Regions from separate parts of the Homo sapiens genome. Here region 1 is linked to region 2. Evidence: promoter capture Hi-C in human tissues and cell types (Jung and others, 2019). All regions are on one chromosome and are shown on one strand. Each heading gives the region's core, a stretch centred on a gene start or on the middle of the fragment in contact. The rest is flanking DNA. Distances are from core to core; before and after follow the strand shown. Region 1 has its middle 170 kb from the start of CHD6. Region 2 holds the start of GTSF1L (gametocyte specific factor 1 like).

The links. The method cuts DNA at HindIII sites, captures the fragments that hold promoters and counts their contacts. A contact is called where the count stands out against the background at its distance.
Region 1: a contact is called between a fragment that was not itself captured here and the fragment with the promoter of GTSF1L in region 2, in 1 of the 25 tissues and cell types used here (dorsolateral prefrontal cortex).

Annotation. Positions count from the first base shown.
Region 1 is chr20:41,790,980-41,795,271 of GRCh38, forward strand. No RefSeq gene overlaps it. Among named protein-coding and RNA genes, the nearest start is that of CHD6, 170 kb to the left of the region's middle. The HindIII fragment of the contact is 4,306 bases long and covers 430-4,292 here.
Region 2 is chr20:43,724,449-43,728,813 of GRCh38, forward strand. It overlaps GTSF1L (gametocyte specific factor 1 like), which reads right to left and starts at 2,554. Exons shown (of 1, transcript NM_176791.4): 1 at 1,716-2,554. The coding sequence starts at 2,246. The coding sequence ends at 1,800. The HindIII fragment of the contact is 17,400 bases long and covers 1-4,365 here.

The DNA of each region.
Region 1 (4,292 bases), core at 1,333-3,832, 1.9 Mb before region 2:
CTGACTCGTGTGACAGAATTAAGTGCATCAATTTTTTCTTGTGGTTATGCAGAAAGCATCCCATCTTCCCAATGTCTGAAAGAATTTGAAACTACTTTGATAGAAAAACTTGCATATGGTATAAAATTTAGGCTCTAGGAACATTGTGAGCATTACCACTATCATCATCATCACTGTCATCATCACCTCTGTCATCATTATGAAGATCATTTCTTTCCAAGGGAATCAAAATGTGTCCTCTGTGTGTCTTCGCTACATTATATTAAGCAGTGGTTCTCAAAGTGAGGCTTCTGGACCAAGCAGTGTCAGCAAATGCAAATTCCTAGGCCTTACCTTAGAAAAACTGAATCAGAATCTCTGGGCATGGAGCCCAGCAATCTGTGTTTTGATAAAGCCTCCAGGTTGAGAACCATTGTTTTTTAGTAATTCTTACACAAGCCAGTGAGATAGGAGCCACTGTTTCCATTTCAGTGCTATGAAAACAAAGGGTGAGAGAATATTGCAGTTATTAAATGGTGAGACTAGAGCATGGATTGAATTCTTCCACCTCTAGGATGAGTCCTTATCCCAACATCACTCTTATATACATAACTAATGAATCAGGAAACTGTGCGTCCACTCTTTTGTGGAAGATATATTAATAGGTAAGGCACAGTTGCCAGAACTTACTCTCTTAAGAAGATAAGGCAGGAAACGCTTAGCAATTAAATGCTAAGTGGCATCATTTCCAATGTCATAGGTTTTTGGTGATGAAAGAGGTCACTGTGGGCTGGACTGAGTGGTGTCCCCTGGAATTGTTCAAAGTACTCCAAGTTGCTAAGATCTTGATCAAATATCTCTAGAAATAAGTGGTCTTCAGTTAGGTCTGGAAGGACAAAGTGGATCTGGCTGGCTGGTGGAGGAGGAGGAGGTCAATAGTTGATTAGCAAATGGACAAGAAGGGTGTGACTTTCTATTGTTAAAACAGGTTAAAGCTGAGAAGCAGCAGCCAGCAAAAGCCTTGACTGAAAGATGAGCACCTTGAGACCTCTTACTGCAAAATAAATTCTGTAGATTGCATCTCCACCTGTTGGTTGGGATACTGATTCTATTCCACTATGAGGAGGTAGCCATTTCCTTCCTAGCCCCTCTCCAATTTACTGCTAGACCAGGGGTGGCAAACCTTTTCTATAAAGGGCCAGGCAGTAAACATTTTGGTCTTTGCGATCCATATGGTCTGTGTTGCAACCTGTCAACTCTGCTACTGTATGAAAGCAGCCATGGGCAATATGTAAATTGATGGGCATGGCCGTGTTCTAATAAAACTATATTTGTGGACACTGAAATTTGAATTTTACATACTTTTCACGTGTCACAAAATATTCTTTTGATTTTTTTTCAACAATTTCAGTGTAAAACCCATTCTTAGCTTGTGGGTCATATAAAAACTGGTGGCAGGCCAGATTTGGCCTATAGGCTATAGTCAGCTGATCCTTGTACTAGACCATAAACCTTACAAGGATAGAATCTTTTCTGCTCACTATCATATACCCAGGACCTGTCGCAGTGCCTCATACACAGTGGCCACTCAAAAAAAATCTGTTGAATGAATGAATGAATGAATGAATACAGTCTGTCTATTCTCCTTTGTTTCCTCTTCTCTGAATTTGTCCAAAGAAAATATGAGGTAAGGAAGCTGAGAAAGAGTAATCAGAAGGTATCCAATGCCTTCTCTTGTCTACATCTTAGGTAGGAATTCACAAAGCTTCTGATTTTAGTGAAAAGAAAGATTAAATAAAAGTCTCTGTAAGGGCTTTAGTTGTCAATCTGCCCTGAAGTTCAGAAATACTAAACTCAGAGCTCAAATATGCCAAGAATGTTTTTTTTTTTAAGCCTAAGAATAAATCTAGAATTATAAAGTTGTTTCCTACTTAACCCCAGAGGGTACACTGAGATTAAGTATAATTGTTTATAGTTGTGAGTTAGTAAGGATGTGTTCATAATGCAAAGAACTGCGTGGTTTTAAATGTTCTAAGTTGTGCATTACTTTAAAAATATATGGTAACGAGATATGAATAATTGGTGTTTGGTGAGGTTGAAGTTTCTGTAAAATGTATTTCAGGCTGTGCATTGGAGCTGTAAAAGTGCAACACTGACACCTTCCATGAAAAACCAGGCGGGTGCTGGAGGCCATAACTGAGACAGTGTTGAGCATGGAGGAACAGGTCATGTCAATGAGCTTTAACCAATAAAGCATCTTGGAAACATCTGAGAAATCAAAAATATGACTTGCAAAGGGTGATTATATACATGGGGAGGATAACTAGGAAAGAGCCTCAAAGGCTAGACCTTCCTTCTGGGATAGGGGAGGAGGATATATGCCCTTTGGGAAGAGAACAGAGCTAGCTAGGCACTTCAGATCAGAGCTGTGGGTGCTAACAACTAATTTGTGCTGGTTGAAACTTACCATTGTCCAAGACCTTCCCTTTCTGGGTCATTCTTAACAATTACTATTATACTTTAATAATTCAATATAGAGTATTTATATATATGTGTGTATATATATATATATATATATATATATATATATATATATAACTTTTTAAATAGAGCTTAACTGGATGGAGACATTCACTGTGTTGCTGAAATCCCTTTTATTCAGACCATGATTCCGTTATTGTTTATTTTTTCTGCTTTTCCAGCACTCATTACCTCCTTCATTGTAATGGGGGCGGGCCTCATCCCTCTGCCTCTTTCCATTTAACTGAGGCGGCTCTCACCCTCTGGACCAGGCAAGGGCACATGATCTTGGGCTAGCCAATCAAAACATTTCATTCTTCTAGCCATAGTGATTGGTTCAGGAATGAGCATATGACCTAAGCTAGACCAATGAGAACCATTCCCAGGTCTTTCCTGAGCCCACTGATTAAGTAGTTAAGCTTCTAGGCTGCTAACTGGAAGCTTCTGTTGGTGACTTCCTTGAGGGAGGATTTTTTTTTTTTTTTTTTTTTTTTGAGACAGAGTCTTGCACTGTCACCCAGGCTAGAGTGCAGTGGCATGATCTTGGCTCACTGCAACCTCCGCCTCCTGGGTTCAAGTGATTCTCCTGCCTCAGCCTCCCGAGTAGCTGGGATTATAGACATGTACCACCATGCCCCGCTAATTTTTGTATTTTTAGTAGAGACGGGGTTTCACCATGTTGGCCAGGCTGGTCTTGAACTCCTGACCTCGTGATCCACCTGCCTTGGCCTCCCAAAGTGCTGGGATTACAGGCCTGAGCCACCGCGCCTGGCCTGAGGGAAGGACCTCTTGAGAAGGGAGGTATCACAAAGATGGCCACTGCCAATTTACCTTCCCTTGTGGATCTTTTGCTTTCTAATCTTCGCTGTGGTGGGGAATAATCTCTACTCAAAGTGTTTGGTGGATTACATGAAAAATACACAGCAGGTATTTGGAAGCATTTCCATCTTCCTTTCTTCCTTCTTTCCTCTTTTTCTCCTATCTCTCTTTTCTTCCCTCCCTCCTTCCTTCTCCCCAACCTTACCTTCCTTTCAAGGAACTTTCCCCAAAGGGAGATTATTTAGGTACAGGCTTGGCAACTTTTTCCCAGTGACTTCTCTTCCATGGGACTGGGGCAGCCACGGGGCAGTTTCTTGAAGGCTTCAGTGAAGGTGAGATTTGTAGGGCTTTTGTGATCACCTGGAGGATGCAGGGCTGAGATTGGTAGAGGGTGGAGGTTAAAGGAGCAGATCCTTTTTGGCCATGAAAAAGAACTTTCTAACCAAAGCATTTTTCAATAAAGGCAAGAGCATCTTAGGTGGTGTTTCCAACCTGGGGCATCCAGCCAAGGATTAATGGCCATCTCTCAGTGTATTAGGATTCTCCAGAGAAACAGAATCAATATAATATGTTTGTGTGGATGTATTTTAAAAACTAATTTATTTTAAGGAATTGACTCACATGATTGTGGAAGCTGGCAAGCCCAAAACCTATAGAGTAGGCTGGCAGGTTCCAGGCTACCCTGGCACCCAGGGAATAGTTGATATGGCAGCTTGAGTTTGAAGACAGTCTGGAGGCAGAATTTCTTCTTCCCCAGGGTACCACAATCTGTTTTTTCTTAAGGCCTTCAACTGATTGGATGAGGCCCACTTACATTACAGAAGGTAACCTGCTTTACTCAAGGTCTACTGATTTAAATGTAAATCTCATCTGAAAAATACCTTCACAGTAACATCCAGACTGATGTTTGACCAAACGTCTGCGTACTGTGGACTAACCAGGTTAACATATAAAATTAACCATCATGAGTCTAC
Region 2 (4,365 bases), core at 1,304-3,803:
CAACATAGTGAGACCCCATCTCTACAAAAAAATAGAACTAGCCAGTTATGGTGGTGCACGCCTGTGGTCCCAGCTAGTTGTTAGGCTTTGACGAGAGGATTGCTTGAGCCTTAGAGGTTGAGGCTACAGTGAGCTATGATTGCGCCACTGCACACCAGCCTGGGCGACAGAGCGAGGACTCTGTCTCAACAAAAAAACAAAAAAAAAACTTAACAGTTAAGATTTCCTCCTGAAAAACTTTCAAAGGACTTAAGTCTTCTACCTGCTGTTTAAAAAAATATAGTTTAATTTTTGACCAGATAACATATTCATATATATTCCCATGTAAAAGATTCTAAAGAGTCAATAGTAAAGAAGGGCTCTCTCTTGTCTTCCCTGGAGGCAGACAATATCAGTTTCTAGTGAAGAGGCAAGCAAATTTTTCTATTAGGCAACAGGTTGAAAAATTTCAGGCTTTGTGGACAGATCTCCATTCTAGAGTATCCTTAAAGAGAAATTTTATGCAAAAACAAGCACATACATATTCATGTCTTCTCCCGCAACTCTCCCCAAATGGTGGCATACTGTATAGACTGCTCTGGACTTGTTTTTGTTTTTTCTTTTCTTTTTCCTTTTTTTTTTTTGAGACAAAGTCTCGCTCTGTCACCCAGGCTGGATTGCAATGGCGTGATCTCGGCTAACTGCAGCCTCTGCTCCCGGGTTCAAGCTATTCTCCTGCCTCAGCCTCTTGAGTAGCTGGGATTACAGGTGCCCACCACACGCCCGGCTAAATTTTGTATTTTTAGTAGAGATGGGGTTTTGCCATGTTGGCCAGGCTGGCCTCGAACTCCACACCTCAGGTGATTGGCCCGCCTCCGGCTCCCAAAGTGCTGGGATTACAGGCATGAGCCACCGGGCCCGGCCTGGACTTGGTTTTTATCAGTTAAACTGGGGGTTGGCAAACCATGGCCCACCAGTCAAGTCCAGCCTGCCACCTGTGGCTGTAAGGCATTTTATTGGAACCTCTGTTCATTTGTTTACATATTATATGTGGCTGCTCTCGTGTTGCAGTGGCAGGGCCGAGTAGTTGCAACACAGACTGTGTGGCTGACAAAGGCTAAGATATTTGCCATCTGGCCTTTTACAGAAACAGTTTGCTGACCTCTGAGCTCAACAGTGTGTCTCAACCTTTCTATATCAGCACAGAAAGAGCTTCCTCACTTTTTTTAAGGCGGCATAATATTTTGTTGTATGGCTGCAGTATAACTTATTTTTAATCAGGCCCTTTTAATGGATATTTAGGTCATTTTTGACTTTTTTTTTTGTTGCTTAAGACAGGATCTCACTATGTTGCCCAGGCTGAACTCAAGCGATCCTCTCGCCTCAGCTCCCAGAGTAACAGGCTACAGCTGTGATTCAACACACCTGGCTCATTTCTAACTCTTTTGCTGCTGCAAATAATGCTGCAGTGAATAAGCTAGTACTTAGCTCATTTTCCACATGTGTGATTATATTTACAGAATGAAGCCTGGAAGTGGAATTGCTCAATCAAAGCCTGTATGCATTGATAATGTTTATAGCTATTGTCAAATTGCCCTCTGTGGAGGTTGTACCAACTGACATTCTCACCAATGTTATGAAAGTGCCCATTTTGCCCTACCTTTGCCAGCAGAGTATTTTAAGCCTTTTGATATTTATCAATCTGCCAGGTTAAAAAAAGAGGTAGCCCAGGGTAGTTTACTTTGCATGTCTTTTATTCTGATGCATTGCACGTTCTTCCATGCATTGATGAGGCGTGTGCTCCTTCCTCAGCTGGCAGTTTACTGTCCTGGTCTGAGGATCTTCTGGGGACTGGTCTCTCTTGCTGACTCTTTCGTGTCATTTTCACAAACAACCTTTTGAGGAAAAAAAGTCTTAAGGACAAACACATGCTGGCAATTAGCGCCATCGACATTCCAGATATCGGGGCTGGGAAGGCAGGGTGAGACCTGCTGGGTGTCATCGTTCTGCTCTGAACTAGGAGGACTGACTTTCAGAGGGTTCTCGGTGTCCTCTTCTTCCACAGCGCTCCTGTTGACACAAACAGCCTCATGTTCCTCCAGATTTTTGATGGGGACCACGTGGCAGGCGTTGTATTTGCAGGTGGCCATCTTTTTGGCTTTCTTGGGGTTCTTTCTCCTGCACGATGCCAGGTGGTACTGGAATCTGCTGAGTGGGATTCGGTGGTGAGGATCATAAGGGCAAATTTCAAAGGCTTCTGGCTCCATGAGAAATTCTTGAAGCAGGGTATCTCACTGCTAGAGTCTAACGGAAATGCTTCTTGTGGAGAAGCCCTTTTGTAAGAAGGATGGAGTTGTCCTCTGCCCAGTTTTGGCCCTTGGGATTCTGTAGGTGACGGTCTTAACTTGTGGTCTGTTCTCTAGGACTGTGAGTGGTGGATTAGAAGAGAGATGAGGAGCTGCCAAAAGCAGCTACACAGAGAACAGAGTTAGCAAATGGCACCCGAGACAGAACTATAGCAGATGCAAGAGCCAAAAACCCACAGCCGCTTGACTCACGGATATACTATGATGTCAAGCTGCAGTCACCGGTGGTCACAATGGGCAGCCTAAGTCATCAGGAAGAGGCTATTGTGCACTGCTTGGGAGGGGTGGATGGCTTTGGGAATGCTGCCATCTAAAATTGCTCATGGATGTATGTTGTGACTTAAGTCTTTTAACTGTACGTATTTGTTTTTTGTTTTTGTTTTTGTTTTATTTGAGACAGAGTCTCGCTCTGTTGCCAGGCTGGAGTACAGTGGTGCGATCTTGGCCCACTGCAATCTCCGCCTCCCAGGTTCAAGTGATTCTCCTGCCTCAGGCTCCCGAGTAGCTGGGATTACAGGCACCTGCCATCATGCCCGGCTAATTTTTTGTATTTTTAGTAGAGACGGGTTTCACCATGTTGGCCAGGCTGGTCTTGAACTCCTGACCTCAGGTGATCCACCCGCCTCAGCCCCCCAAAGTGCTGGGATGATAGGTGTGAGCCCCTGCGCTTTGCCAGGGCTGGTTTTTGGATGTGATTCTCAGGGCCGTCTTTCTTTACCCTTCTGCTCTGCTGAGGCCCACAGCAGCCTAGTCTCCTTGGGTGTGGGGGAAGGGTTTAAATCTATTCATATATCGCAGAAGGTGAAGCCTTTTGGTGTTCAGCTTAACATGGGAAACATTTCCTATAAAACGCCCCATCTTAGGTCGACCCTGCCGTTGTCCCTCACAGAACTGGACCAAAGTCTGAATGGACGCAATTGACACATATCTCAGGGTGTTAGTGGTTTTGGTCCTCTGACATTCTATTTACATGTCTGGTGTTAGGTAGGATTTCTTCTAAAAATTGGCCTGGAGCTCCTTCCCACCCCCCACCCTGTTAAATTGTTTCTCAAGATCTGAGTGACAGTAGAGAAATACCATATTCCTGAATAGGAAGACTCAAAATCATAAATGAATATTCTCTGTAAACTAAATTACATAAATTACATAGTCATCCTAAATTGATACATAAATATAATGCAATTCCAAATAATTTTTGTAGCTTTATGTGCTGATATCTGATAGAGCAAGTCTCTGCTTGTTATTAGTTTTCCCCCCAAAAGCCTTGACTATCTTCAAGGATTTGTTATTCTAGATCATGTGTCAACAAACTATGGGCCCATGATTCAAATCCAGATGGCTATCTGCTTTTGTAAATAAAGTTTTATTGAAGCACAGCCACACCCATTTGTTTATATATTGTCCATTGGCTGCTTTTGAGCTAGATTTGAGTAGTTGCAACAGAATCCAGATGACCTAGAAACCTCTAATGTTTTCTGTCTGGCCCATTATAGAAAAAGCTCACCCATCCTATTCTTGGTGGTGGTTAAGGAAGCTGACTGTATTCAAATTCTACCTCCTGCCACTTACCAGCCATGTGACCTTGGGGAAGGTGTGTGTGTGAGTGTGTGTGTGTGTATGTGTGTGTGTGTGTTTCCTGGTATTTACTAAGCTCTATTGATGGTGTCTTTTCAGGTAGGCTTTGTAGTTTTCTTTCTATTTTTTGCACGTTAAAAAAAAATTAATCTATGATGCTTTATGGTTTTTTCTTTTTCTTTTTTTTTTGTCATTGTAAATGACACTTTTTCCATCTCTCCACATCCTAGCTATGGTGTTCAGCCTTTTTTGAGAATTGAAGTGATTGGCTTTGTCTACATTGTTACATAATTGCAACTGATCATACATGTGGGATGTCTTGTTACTATCATATGACATGCAGACAATTTAGCAACATGACACTCACTGATGTCATAGTAAGAAATTGTAATGGGAACCCAGGTATAGACAAAAGATTAGACAAAGGATTCTAAAAAAAGGCATC